Regions from separate parts of the Homo sapiens genome. Here region 2 is linked to region 1. The links are contacts of gene promoters, found by promoter capture Hi-C in blood cells and fetal thymus (Javierre and others, 2016). All regions are on one chromosome and are shown on one strand. The core of a region is centred on a gene start or on the middle of the fragment in contact, and the rest is flanking DNA. Distances in the headings are between cores, read along the strand shown. Region 1 holds the start of C1orf216 (chromosome 1 open reading frame 216). Region 2 overlaps SFPQ (splicing factor proline and glutamine rich).

The links. The method cuts DNA at HindIII sites, captures the fragments that hold promoters and counts their contacts. A CHiCAGO score of 5 or more calls a contact.
Region 2: a contact is called between a fragment that was not itself captured here and the fragment with the promoter of C1orf216 in region 1, in 1 of 17 cell types (monocytes). The highest score is 5.6, in monocytes.

The regions. Positions count from the first base shown.
Region 1 is chr1:35,715,358-35,722,365 of GRCh38, forward strand. C1orf216 (chromosome 1 open reading frame 216) reads right to left here and starts at 3,527. Exons shown (of 2, transcript NM_152374.2): 1 at 3,350-3,527; 2 at 1-969. The coding sequence starts at 964. The coding sequence ends at 275. It also overlaps a transcript of CLSPN not described here. RefSeq lists an enhancer at 151-445 and silencers at 3,259-3,688, 5,351-5,645. The HindIII fragment of the contact is 2,001 bases long and covers 2,645-4,645 here.
Region 2 is chr1:35,177,434-35,185,278 of GRCh38, forward strand. SFPQ (splicing factor proline and glutamine rich) reads right to left here. Exons shown (of 10, transcript NM_005066.3): 10 at 5,503-7,160. The coding sequence ends at 7,023. Among named protein-coding and RNA genes, the nearest start is that of SFPQ, 12 kb to the right of the region's middle. The HindIII fragment of the contact is 1,769 bases long and covers 2,665-4,433 here.

The DNA of each region.
Region 1 (7,008 bases), core at 2,277-4,776:
CTTACATACTACACACACACACATATGTTCACTCTTACATGCTCACATATAGGTCTGCAGATAAATTAGCTGTGTGTACACATGTGCACACAGCACACTTAAGCTCATTTATACATGCTTATTCACACATGCCTACACACACCAGCCTACATGTTAGCACATACACACTCATGCCTACCTGCAATCATGCCAGCAAATTATGTACTTACTAGTGCGCCTCACACATGCCTGCAAATATATACATATACCCTTGCACACTTGTGGAGGCACACCCTTAGGCCTGGTCCTGGGGCCTGGATGGTGCTGCCCTCTGCTGGAGACAGCGAATAAGCTCCTTCCGGTTGTCTAGGATGGTGTCGAAGCTCTCCTGCAGTCGGGCCTGCTGGTCAATCAACTGATGCTGCAGGCCCCGGATCCACTGGAGCAGTGCCAGGCGACGGTACATCACCAAGTGCACGTGGTGCTTTTCCTTCTCCTGCTCTTTGTAGCGCTCCTGGACTTGTAAGTGCTGCACAGCCTGGGCCACTGAGGGCAGAAGGGGATCGGGAGGGCCAGGGCCTCGCGGGGTCCCACAGGCAGGCTCAGGACTGCTGCTACGGCTGTCAATGCTCAGGGAACTGCTGGCATAGCCGTTGTCCTCCAGAGGGGAGCAGACTGTGCCAGCACCACCCATCTTCTCAGGCTCAGCCCCGGGAATCTCTGCCCCCTCTGGGGGGCTGCGCACCCCTTCCTCAGGGGATCCAGGGGCCTGGAAGGCTTGGTTGTCAGAGGGTGACTCAGAGGAGCTCCTCCTCAGGATAGGTTCCACTCTGCCTGGCATCCCATGCCAATTCTCGTTAGCATCCTTGGCACTTGCCATGAAGTTGGAGTTGCTGTCTGGTTGGAGCTCGGGCTGACATAATCCAGGAGGTGGGTCCCCCAGGAATTGGCCCCCCTCAGCTAGCCCTGGCTGGATGGCGAACATCTAGCCTGTAAAGGGAAAGCAGGAGACCGAGTCACAGTAGGACAGGGTGGGGTGCCTGAAGTCAGGGCAACTTAGCTGCAGGGACAAGGCTGCAAGCAAGAGCCTGGCCACTCCCTGTCAAGCCCTTTCTCTTGACTCTGGTAACACTTCCCTTCGTGGTTTTCGTCCTCCCTGTCTACCTGTTCATTCTCAGTCTCCTGCAAAGGGTTTTTCCTCCGTCCTCAGAGCCAGGCTGTCTTCTGATTTTGTGCATTTCTCTCCAGAGGACCTCATTCTCTGCTGTAGCTTCAAAGACCATCATATGCTGGTGACTCTCAGATCTGTCTTCAGCCCAGATCCAACTGCTATCCAACCCTGCAACCAACCATAGTCTCCTCAAATTCTACATAACCAGTCCAGGCATGGTGGCTCATACCTGTAATCCCAGCACTTTGGGAGGCCGAGGCAGGCAGATCACCTGAGGTCAGGAGTTCGAGACTAGACTGGCCAACATGGTGAAACCCCATCTCTACTAAAAATACAAAAATTAGCCAGGCATGGTGACAGGCACCTGTAATCCCAGCTATTTGGGAGGCTGAGGCAGGGGAATCACTTGAACCCAGGAGGCAGAGGTTTCAGTGAGCCGAGATTGCGCCACTGCACTCCAGCCTGGGTGACAGAGTGACATCATCCCCCTCCACCACCGCCCCCCGCCAAAATTCTACATAACCAAACAAGCTCTCCTTCAGTATCCTCAGCAAGATGGCTCTGTACTCCATCCAGAAAGCTGAGAGCATCCTGGGGTCCTCACTATCCTTCCTTCTCCCATCTCATTAATAACCACATTCTGACCATTCTTCCTCTTCCAGGCCATTTCTGACCTGGATTATTGCCTCGGCCTTTTCACTGATCTCTCTGCCTCCAGTTAAAAATGTAAATTTCACTTGTCACCACTCCTAATGCCCTCCCTGAATTCCTGCTAAACCTCTACCTGGCCTACAACACCCTGTTTGATCTGGCCCCTGCTCACCCCTCCATACCTGCCTCTTGCCACTCTGCCCCTCCCATCATAGCAAACTGCCCAGAGATCTCAAAACACACCATTGTTTTTCTTACAGTATTCCTTTGGCCTACAATATCCTTCCTCTCCCCTCCCCTCAAAGCTCCTCCCTTCTCCACCCAGCAAATTCCTTTTTGTACTTCAAAATTAGCTGTAATATCCCCATGTTTCCATGTCCCCATGTCTCTGAAGCCGTCTTGATACTGCCCCAATCAATATTACATAAACAAGCACGGTTAGTTATGCCTTCCTCTGGGTCCCCACTGCGCTGGGTATACACTGTCTTATCCAACTTTGCATCCGTCCCTGGCATACATGGTCGACGATCAGTGAATGTCTATTCAACTGGCATTTTTGGTTTGTGGTAATGATCTTGTAATAGCAGTTTGTAATCTGGCTTGGACCTCCTGTATATATCCTCCATCATATTCCCCAGAGTCAGCCAGCATAGAGCCCTGAACCAGGCTGTCTGTGCATACAGGTACTTGCTAAGTGAGTGAATGGGAGAAGAGACTGCAGTGAATTTCCATGCTCAGGAATCCACTCTTGACTCCCCAGGGCTGGAAGAGCTGGGTTCTGGAAGAGCTGGGTTTGGTTCCCTTTCCTACCCCAGCCAGGGAGCCCCGCCTTCCCCAGTGACAAGCTTTTCTTCTGAGCCTGCCCCCTTCCCTCCCAATGCCTCTGGAACACAGCCACTATCTTGCGGTCCCCGTCCCTAGCTTGCTCCATTCTGAGGCCCTGGAGGGAGGGCATACCACACCACTCTTCTCTCCTCCATAACCTGCTTCTAACCAAAATTAGGATTTGAACTGACAAAGGGATTCTACTGACCAAACAGCACTGGGATTAGAACAATTGAAGAGCATGAAGAGGAAGGGTATTGTAAGTGGAGCCGGCACTGGAAGGCGCTCCATAGGTGGCATGGACCCTCCCCACCCCCAGCAATGGGCAGAGAAGTCCTGGGGAGAAGGGTGTAGGAACAGTTCGTTTCTAATCGCCCTCTAAGCAAGGCTTGTGGGAAGGTGCCTAGAGATCTCCCCTCGCCCCAATTTTTTATTTTTCCTATACTTGGATGGGGCCGTGAAGGAAGCTGGGATGGGGTGGGGGTGGCGCTAGGGATCACAGGGTTCTCAGAGATAGTAAAATGAGAACCCCGACACGCCAGGACTAGGTCTCCGCCCAAACAGGAGGCAGCCTCCTTTTCTGGCCTTGCGGGAGTGGGAGACCACCCCAGGAGACAGAGACCATCCTTCCCTAGTCTCCTCGAAGGAGGCCACTGTGACTCCCCGCTTCCCGCGGCTGAGCCCCAAGCCCCACCCCGCCTCGGGCCCCAGACTCGGACTCACGGCGTAGAGGCGCCCGCTCCGGCGCGTCTGGCTCTGGCTCCGCCCGGCCCTGGTGGTGTCTAGTCCCTGGGCTGGGGGTTCCTCGGCCTGGGCGTCTCCGCGGTCCAGGCGTGGGTGCGGGGCTCCCGGGCAGCGCGCCCAGCCCCAGTCCCGGACTGCGGAGTCAGGCGGCGTCTGCGCAGCAGGGCGGAGCGACCGGTCCCACGTGGGCCGGTTCGGTTTTCCGCGGAGCCCCGCGCCAGGCCCCTGCGCCGGAACCGCTTCGCCCCCGCGCGGGGCCGCGTTGACCCAGGCCTTCCAGGTCCGGTGCTCTCTCCTATTGGCATTCGCTGGGCCCTTCCCATCAGTTAGCCTCGCTGCAGACACCGTGCCATTTTCAAGTGAAATCTGATTAGTCACCACCTTCCGGCGTTAAACTCCTCAATGGCTTCCCCACCGCCGGGACAACCCCTAAGGCGGTAGCCGCGGGGCTCTGTGCGTCCTGCCCTTCGTCTGCCTCTCCGGCTTCGTCCTCTACCCTCCCTCTCCGCAGTTACCCTCCCACACGCCCCTTTCCGCCACGCGGCTTTGGCACGCACTGTTCCCTCGGTCTAGCATTCTCTTCCCCCTCTCGACTTACTCCTATTTCAGATCTCTTCTCGGAGAGATCTCTGACTCCCTAGATCACGTTCGTTCCCCCCTTTATGTCAGAGCACATTCCTTTTCTTCATAGCATTTATCACAATTTGGAATTATATATTCCTTTTTGTGCTTACTTGACTAAAGTCACTGAGGCCGGGTGCGGTGGCTCACGCCTGTAACCCCAGCACTTTGGGAGGCCGAGGCGGGCAGATAACCTGAGGTCAGGAGTTTGAGACCAGCCTGGCCAACATGGTGAAACCCCATCTCTACTAAAAATACAAAAATTAGCCGGGCTTGGTGGCGGGCGCCTGTAATCCCAGCTACTTGGGAGGCTGAGGCAGGAGAATCGCTTGAACCTGGGAGGTGGAGGTTGCAGTGAGCCAAGACTGCACCACTGCACTCCAGTCTGGGCAACAGAGTGGGACTCCGTCTCAAAAAAAAAAAAAAAAAAAAAAAAAAAAAGAGAGAGAGAGAAAGAAGATCCAAGCCTGGGACAGGGCTCAGGGCTGATGTCCTGTACCCGGGACGGGGGCTCTCCGCAGGACACAGAGCCCACCCATGATGCCTGTGAAGTGGGTACCAGTGCTTTTGCCCAGGTGAGGAGGAACAGCGTGATAAAAAAGGGTCTTGGGTTCCAAACTCCAGTGGATTCTTCTCAGAGCTCCACTCTACTGAAGCTTGACCCCCCTCACTCTTTTGCACCCTGGGGAAATGTGAAGTTGGGGGCCCTGTTTGGAATAAAAGAGAACAGAGTTCAGTAATTGCTGACCCTAATATATGAGGTGCCCTCTTCCAGTTTCAATTTGATTCCAAGTCACCATTCTGCAACCTAGAGACTAATTGGCAAATTAAATCACACCAAGAAATCCTATATGCAAAAACAGGGAAAATGGAAAAGAAATTTTTATGATTATGATGACTATTTTAAAAGGGAAAAGGAAATAAGAAGGAGAAGGCAGAAGTAATTCAAACTTTGCACACTCCTCCAGCTAAGAAAATACAGGTGGAGACGTCAGCCCCATTTCTACATCAGATCCTGTGGCCTAAGTCTTCTCCCTTCCCTTATCCACTTCAGGTTCCCCTGGCCTTCAGCCTGGGGTGACCCAAATCCTCACTTTTTTTTTTTTTTTTTTTTTTTTTGAGATGGAGTCTCGCTCTGTCGCCTAGGCTGGAGTGCAGTGGCGCAATCTCGGCTCACCGCAACCTCCACCTCCCGGGTTCAAGCGATTCTCCTGCCTCAGCCTCCTGAGTAGCTGGGATTACAGGTGCATGCATCACGTCAGCTAATTTTTGTATTTTTAGTAGAGATGGGGTTTCACCATGTTGGTCAGGTTGGTCTTGATCTCCTGACCTTGTGATCCACCCACCTCGGCCTCCCAAAGTGCTGGGATTACAGGCGTGAGCCACCATGCCTGGCCCAAATCCTCACTCCTAAAGGCTCTCAGCTTTGGTGATCTAGGGTTATGCAGTTCTGCCCAGACCACAGAGCCATAAAGTCATCAATTGTTTGTTCTGCCCAGAATAGCCCTTCTCCGCCTCTCTTTGGACTCTGTCTCTCCCAGCTTAACCATGTGGGTCAAATGAAAGCCTGAAGAATCCAGGGATAGGAGCTCCACTCCAGGTGAGCCAGTCAGAGTCCTTCTCTGGGATCTTCTGAAACGAAATTAAAGGAAGACGAGGCAGGGAAGAAACAGAGATGAGAGATAGTTCTGATAATGTTGCAGACCCTGTTTCCTGCATCTAAACTTATAGTTTTGTATGCCTTATTTTGCCAAGCCTAACTTGAGTGGAATTTCTTTCACCGACAATTGAAAGAATGCTGATTACTACAATAGCACAAGGTGGTGACCCCAGGGTCTCTGGGTTCCATTCACGCACCTCTCAACACTTATTAGGTAACAGTAACTCCCTTTCTCCTTGGTAGCCATGATCAGTCCAGTCTACACTGAGACCACCCCCTTCTCCTATTCCTCTAGTGCTACCAGGAGCCGAAATCCCAGGGAATCATCTTTGTGTTTCTTGGTTAGAAGAAACATTCCTCCCATGATGCTATCACCATGTTTTGTTTTGTTTTTTTCCCAAGACAGAGTTTCACTGTCACCCAGGCTGGAGTGCAGTGGCGCGATCTCAGCTCACTGCAACCTCCGCCTCCCAGGTTCAAGTCATTCTCCTGCCTCAGCCTCCCGAGTAGCTGGGGTTACAGGCGCGTGCCACCACACCCGGCTAATTTTTGTATTTTTAGTAGAGACAGGGTTTCACCATGTTGGTCAGGCTGATTTCAAATTCCTGACCTCAAATGATCTGCCCGCCTTGACCTCCCAAAGTGCTGGGATTACAGGTGTGAGCCACTGTGCCTGGCCGATGCTATCACCTTCTGACCTGCAATACCCAGAATCTCAGAGACAGGAAGAAAACTCTTAGTCCTTAGGTAAATCATATAAGGTGCCACAACCACCGCTACCTCTTCTTGTTATGCATTCTGGCCACAAAGGACAAAGCATTATATACATTGATTTAAAGCCTATATTGGGCCTGGTGTGGTGGCTCACACCTGTAATCCCAGCACTTTGGGAGGCCGAGGCAGGCGGATCACTTGAGGCTGGGAATTCGAGACAAGCTTGGCCAACATGATGAAACCCCGTTTCTACTAAAAATACAAAAATTAGACAGGCATGGTGGTGCGCGTCTGTAATCCCAGCTATTCAGGAGGCTGAAGCAGGAGAATCGCTTGAACCCAAGAGGCAGAGATTGCAGTGAGCCAAGATCGTGCCACTGCACTCCAGCCTGGGCGATAGAGTAAGACCCTGTCTCAAAAAAAAAAAATTAAAATAAAATAAATAAAGCCTATATCGTGCTCTGCAGGGCAGCACCCCAGCCTGGAATAGCTGAGTCATCAATTCCATTGTTCTAAAAAGCTAGTTATTCCTTTTTTTTTTTTTTTTTTTGAGATGGAGTCTCTCTCTGTCACCCAGGCTAGAGTGCAGTGGCATAGTCTTGGCTCACTACAACCTCCACGTCCTGGGTTCAAGCAATTCTCC
Region 2 (7,845 bases), core at 2,299-4,798, 540 kb before region 1:
CTCAACCTCCCAGGATCAAGCGATCCCTCCCACCTCAGCCTCCAAGGGAGCTGGGACCACAGGCACACACCACCACACCTGGCTATATTTTTTTCTGTAGAGACATGGTCTCACTATTTTGCCCAGGCTGGGCTCAAGCAATCCTCCCACTTCTGCCTCCCAAAGTGCTAGGAATATAGGTGTAAAGCCACCATGCCTGACCTTCTCCTACATTTTCTTAAGTAAAAAAAGAATCATGGAGTTTTAGATGGAGTCTAAAATTGAATTGAATATTGACAATATGGCCTATTCCCCTTAAGTCAAGTTTTCTTTTCTGTTCTTCTATGACCGTTATATAACCATCCACTTTTTAAAAATTCTATTGTTTGACATTTTTATAATGCCTCTCACTTGCTTTCTCACATACATCCCTAATTTCCAAACAAAAATAAAGGGATATTATCTTAGAAACGGTAAACATCTCAAATATCGAAGTTTCACTCCACATATCTAAATGAAATTATTTAAATCAAACTCAAAAGCCTGTAGGGGTTAAGATTTCTAAAGGAAACTTACTTCATGTGAATGAGCACTCCAATATCAGCCAACATCAATCATTCTTACCTAAAGAATAATAAGAAAAAGTTAATATAAAAGACAAGGGTATAAAATAAAGGTTTGAAAATGCTAGTCAACTTCAAAATTTAAAGAGTAAAAATCCAGAGATAAAGATTGGGGGTAAGTTACAGCATAAAAAAATAGGAAGAAACTTCATGGTGGGGGGGAAATCTAAAATTATTCTTACATAAAATAAGTAGACACCTGAATTAGAATGAAAACTGTATTTTCTTTAAAATGTAAAAGCCTGACTCTCAGTTTCACCAGTCTGAGCACAAGTTTGACTGCAACCCAAAATATACTATCCCTTATGTGAAGGTATGTGACAACGTTGACCTCACCAAATGAGTTTTAACATCAGCTCTTTTTTCATATGAAAGCACATACCCTGCTCCCCATTCAAGTATGTCTTCCATTGTCAGGCAGGCTGACCACCTTCAGCAGGAGTCCTCCAAGAGTGCCCAACTCCCCTTCCCACAGTACACAACGCTGTAGTTGTTGTCCTGCAATCCTTTGTATTTACCTCATTCTTTCCCATCTAAGTCCTCACTGAGTTTTAAAGTTAGGGCTGGAAAAGCTATGCCTTACTGGGACAGCAAGGAACCAATTTTTTTCTGAGGGAGAAGACATTCACCTTCACTATATGCCTGGCAGGGCCACAGTGCACAAAACAAAGATCAGCCTTCATTCAAGTTCCAGGTTTTTCTTCCTCCCTGAATGATTACTGCAAAGGGTATATGAAGTAAGAGTTCCCTGTTGCACATGTACCATCCATAAGGGATACTATATCGTTTTGCATTCTTCCCCCCATTCTCCACATTGTCCTATCTTAAGTCCAAGCCCTTTTCACTCTCAAAAAAAAAAAAAAAAATATTTTTTTCAGCACTGGTGTTCAAAAGCAACGTTTTTATGGTTAATGGTTTACCAGCAACTGTTGAGATTTCCAGTTGAGTCTTAAAAATTGCCAATCATTATCTAGCAGCAATGACAGATGATTAGGAGCAGTCAAATCCTCTGAATTCTTTCCCTAATAGGCAGCCATTTGAGAACTGCACTAGCTGACATCACTAAAACATTATCAGCTAAAGCCAAAACCAAATAAAGGCCCAGACCAACATCCTGGCTCTCTAAAACCTGTCCAAAATCATTAAGTGAAAGGCAGTAAATGCAGGACTGTGGATCATGTCACTGCAGCTGACAATGATTAACAATAGGAGACATGCAACCCCCATTAAGGTTAAAAGTCCAAAACTAGTCACACGCATCTCTTTATTGGGGAAAAGTGAGACTATTATGCATTCTTGGTAGGTTTGCAACCTTGCATGAAGAGCACCCATTGCATTTCTTTCATCTTTCAGAAAGCACCGGTATCTGTTCCAAGGGCCTAACAGTACGAAAATACATTCTGGCATCACACCTCTGAACCCAAGACTGTTCTCATTAAAAATAATTTTGGTTTGTAACAAAATTATGAAATACAATGCAAGCACCTCGGTATAGCATTATTACTGAAACCACTTAATTCCCAGCTTTTTGAGTTTTTTAAAAAAACCCACTGCACTAAGATTCACAATTCATTGCTACATACAAATTAAAGCTAGTAAGAACACACTAACGTCACAAGTTTCTCATTCTAAAGTGCAAAAGCCTAATCATCTGAAAGTGAACAGGGTAAGGCAAAATTAACCCCCCACCCCAATAAAGTTCCTGAAGTCCATATATTATATACCAAGTACATTCTCTAAAAATTGTTACTGACTGGTAAGAAATAGACCTGAGTTTTTATTTCTAACACCCAATCACTAAACCACGGCAGCAAGCACTGGCCACCGATTTAATGGATTACGACACAGGAAACCCCATCAGGGTTCTATGTAATTTAGTGATACTCATGTCACTAATATTGAGCATTATACTTGATCTGCATTATATTGTTGATATGCAGAGGCTAAACTAGTCATCATTTGCTCTTTCATCTATCAGTAGAGTCCAAAGTTGTTTGCTTGAATGGACTACATGTTAAAGTACAAGTCTGTCCCCACCTTGTGAATTGCTTGCCAACGAGCAAGCTTTTTCTTGATACACAGAAGAAAAGTCTCATAGTCATGAAGTTTTCATCAGCATTTATGCAAAGTAAACCACTTTCCAGTTACAGAGCAGAAACATTATACATGAAAACTGTCTCTCATGCATGCTAGCTAAAACCAGTTCAGAGACCAAGAAGTTGAAGTGAGGTCTGGAACAACAGTTGATGCAAAGTCCTAAGCAACAAAAGTTGTGCTTTTGAAGACTTAGGTTTTCTTGTAAACATTTTGGACTATAACATCACATCCCTAAAGCTAAGGGAACCAAATTCAAAAAGCTACTCTGAACATATGCAGTCATCCTACAGAAACGACGATGTCTTATGATTGGGAATGATTCCCAACATGTATTCGACTGTAGTCAAGTCAATGTTCCACACCACCTTCCCCCAGGTTTAGAGTATAGACACATTTAGACAAGTCCCATAACTTGAACTATTCACATTAGATTCCCATCTAAGCCCAAGTTAGTAACAATGGTGTTTTCATGAAGCCCATGTTTTTAAAAATTTTAAATCGCATTACAAAAAAACCTGTACTTTTAGTTCAACTCAACTTGTAGAATTACCAAGATTGCATAATGAAATTACTGATATTGCCGATCTATGGGCAGGTCAGTTTGCTACAATAGAGACTAATTATCACATGCTATACGGTCCATGTCAAGGTGCTAAAAGCACCCTAGTTCCCAAGTATAGTTTAGTTCCCTCTCCCCCACACCACTGATGTGTTCCATGTTATCTTCAGTTACAATGCAACTAAAGGAAACCACACAACTGAGTCAGATATACCAAAGAATCAAGTTTGCACTTTTTATCTGAGAACTGCAACAGCACTGAATTCTGCCTGACAAATTACAGCTCTAACCCCACACCCACACAGTTTTGATGTAAGCTAGCTTTACCATACAAGTGTTAGGTGCTGCACTGTAATTTCATTGTCAGAAATGTGATGCCAGAATGCCCACGGAATAAAAGTACATACAAGTCACCAAGTTAGATTATATTGCTTGTTACCTACCTGTATGCAGTCGGCAATGAGAATCTTGGAGCAAGCAGGAATACTACATCCGGGTCCTAATGTCCATTGCCATTTGCGGTACTACGTTCCTCACAGTTACGCACTGCAGAAATGCTGGCTAAATGCAGTTATGTAGCAGGCCACTACTTTAATAGTGCATAATTGCAGTCCAAGAACACCAGAAAACATTCCGCCACAACTTAGTGGCTTGCCCAAGAAAAGCCAAGTATCTAAATTTTAATCTGCCATAATATGCCACTTAAAAATTGCACAGGCGTAACATTACAATTTCCCCATTTTTTAGCTGTTTATATTAGTGGTACAATACATCTATAAAGAGTGGTGGGGTTTGTAGTACTTCTTATGAGTTTAATGTTCTAAGCAAAGAGGATTATGGTTTCACTAACATGAGCCAATGGGCTATGCTTATAAAATACCTATTAAATACACTGGGGTCTTAACAATATGCAGTTTTTAAAGATTAGGAGAAGTATAAAAAACAACCAGTGTTCCTCTTAAAACAAAATTATGAGAAAGTGGAGAAGAGGAAATGGGGACAAGTGGTTTCTTTAAATGAAAAAAATGGCTAAAATACTTCAAAAATTGCTACCTCCCCTTTCCCACCCCAAGTTTCAGATCGACTTTTAGGAAACTATTAAGATTATTTAAATTCACATTAGGCTAAAAACTATCATATATACATTGAAGACTTATTGAAAGTCTATTTGAGTAAGCTTACAACCCTGAGTACATTGCTGTTTTAGTGATGAAAGTCAAATGTCATTTGAAACTAAGCAACATTATTTGCTAAACAACGTTTAGCAACTCTACAGTCCACAGTAAGGGTATCAAAAGCCACAACTTTCAGGAGATTATCCATTAGCATCCTTCACCACTCTTCAAAGGTACAGTACTACCAAAAGCTTATTTTAGGGGGTCTGTGCCAGCATCCCTTATAAAGAAAGGCATGTAATCTGAAAAATAAACTGAAACATTAATTTTATAGGCAGATTTTCCCATTTCCCGACCAGCCCCCACCCACACACATTCAAAGTTCACCCTCTGTGGGTGTCCCATGGAACACCCCTTATTTTCTTGTCTTTAGTAGAGTCCCTACTATATAATTCAACCAAACTGTAATGGATTCCTTTCTAATCAAGACCCTTGTTTCCGTACAGAAAATCTCTTATGTATCACCAATTAATAACCTGTTTGGGGACAAAACTTCCTCACTGATATAATCATGGTAAAACTACTCATATTTCCGAGTGTGCTGGTGAATGATATAATGAGCATTACTTTCTAATGAGATTCTCTCCCTTAGCACACCATGTACCTGTCAGTCATACAACCAGTATTTGGTGAGATGCTTTTATACACTAGTGTTTACTTTCAGCATTATCCTGTTTCCTATGCAGAAAGTGCTCAGATTGTTCCAACAATAGGTCTCCTTTTGTACACAGGCACAATACTAAACTTCAGCATGTTAATAAAGGTTTGACTTAGAATTTTTCTTTTGCCAATTAGCACCAAGAAAAGAGGTGAAAAGGAGGAAGACACATTCCATAGTAAGAATTCTACAATGTACAGATTTGAATGGAACGTAACTCAGAACAAAGCCAAACCATTCAATTACTTTACCTACTGTTAGGAAGCTGTTCCTCTAACATATTTACACTGGGAAATCAGGCTCCCATTATACTAACAGGCAACAATAAACAATCTACTTTAATAGTCAAAGTCTCTTGTTCTAATGGAAGGGGGTTCAATGAAGTTGACAATTAACTGACAACACCATGGAAACATTCCAAGCCTTTATGGTGGGAGGAAGGGATATTTGTACTGTGTAGCATGAGCAACTTTCTCCAGATTTAGTGCTACATGAAAACGAAACTATGTGAAAACAAGTTAAATTTACAATAAGAATGATTATCTGCAACCCTATTTGTTAACAATCACCACTAGCTCTTAGAAGAGAACCAATAGATTTTTATAGTCCTATAGATTTTGCCCAACAGAAGTAGCACAAGGAGATGTAAAAGTTACAGAGTACAAATGTATATATAACTAAACCTACTTCAGTACTAAACCTTTTTTTTTTTTTGAGACAGAGTCTCGCTCTGTTGTCCAGGCTGGAGTGCAGTGGCAGTCTCAGCTCACTGCAACCTCCATCTCCAGGTTCAAGCAATTCTCCTGGCTCAGCCTCCCGAGTAGCTGGGATTACAGGCGCCTGCCACCACGCCCAGCTAATTTTTTGTATTTTTAGTAGAGACGGGGTTTCACCATGTTGGCCAGGCTGGTCTTGAACTCCTGATCTCATGATTTGCCCACCTCAGCCTCCCAAAGTGCTGGGATTACAGGCGTGAGCCACCGCGCCCGGCCCAGTTACTAAACCTTCTTACTTTCAAGTTTTGTTTTTTAGACTACACCCCATCTTTATAAATCACTTGAATACATGAAAAGACTTCATGTTTAACATCTTTAATTCAAATGTAAAAGTTCAATACAAGCCATTTATAGGGCTTGAGATTTGTTGGTCTTTTAAAAACAAGAAATGGGGAAATGCAACAAAATGACCTTTCCACTTTTCAAAAGCTTTCAAGTAAAGGATAGATCATAGGGCCATAAAAGATCCATTTAATCAAACCCACTTTCACCCCCTACCAATTGTCTTACACCCATTCCACAATCTTAATACATATTCCTGAAGATTTACAGTTCAGCTTTGCTTACATAACCATTTAAAAAATACTTAGCACCAGCGTGCTTCCTATATGCCAAACAAATCATCAAACTACTTCAATATGCATTTCTTCTTTTTAAAACAAAGGGGGCAATTATTTGTAGAAAGCAATACTTAGCCTCCAGATGCATTTCCCAGAAATGGCATATGCCATTCAAAGGCCTAGACACTCTCATGCTTTCAATGTGGAATACGTAGCCTAATATGCATAGAAGCATGAATGGCAAAGTTGAAGATCAATATTATAACTATTTTTCTATTTATTTGAAGCACAGTAAAAAAAAAAAAATTGGTACACTTTGGAAATTCAGTGGCACAAGGTACACTGCCATAAACTTGAGGGACATTATACAGTAAAAAAGAAAAAATAAAGAAATAAAAAGGAAAAAAAAATTCTCCTGTTCCAAACACTGCATTACATAATTTTACCTGCCCAAACAGACCATTTACAAATATTAGGTCAATAAACTGCTAACATCCATAAAAAGATAGCTTTCTTACTAAAATGCAAGAATTTAAAAGATTGGTATCTAAACAAAAAAACAAAACAAACTGGAATGAAAGCCTAAATATCACATCTAAAATCGGGGTTTTTTGTTTGGGCCTTCGTACTCTTCTCTCCCTCTACCATATCCTGCTGGAGTTCCAGGCCCCATTCCTCTAGGACCCTGTCCACCCACAGGCCCCGCACCTCCCTGCCCAAAGCGCTCAGTACGCTATTGGAACAGTAATTAACAGTTCATTATAAGTAGTTGATGTCCATGTGTGTTAAGTAAATATTTTAGAAGGTTCCGTAGTCAACGTTCGTCGATACAATCACCAATGAGTCGATCCACAGGTACCGGGAACATAGAAAGGAAAAAAGGGTAATTTGAAAATTAGTTTACGGTAATACATGCCTTGTGGTATGTTCCCACTTGAGCCATTCTCATACACCTGTTTCAAAGAACAGATCTTCCCTGTAGTGCTAAAAAATTTAAGAATTAGTGCAGATGTGAAAATCCATTCCAAAATGAGTTCTAAGAAATTTCACATCAGATTAACCCACTGAAAAACTTGCAAACTCTCACTTTCAACGTCTGAACGGAAATTTAATTTCCAAGTAAGCCTAACAAGCCCAACCAGAGATTCAATTCACTCAATGAAGTGACAAAGACCTACTCACCAGTTAGTGGCATGTGCTGCTTAAGAAACCTTGTGCTTTTCAAGATCTTAAGACACATCTGCTAAGTTGCAGAAATCTTAAAAGGTTGAAAGTTTTAATAAAATGCTACCAGACTACAAAAAGAAAAAGCATAAGACTATAGATTTAGTCACTTAACCGGCACAGTAACTTGATCAAAAAAACTTATGTTGCCAAATTCTCACAGGCACACTACCTTCCGAGCCATCACTATATAA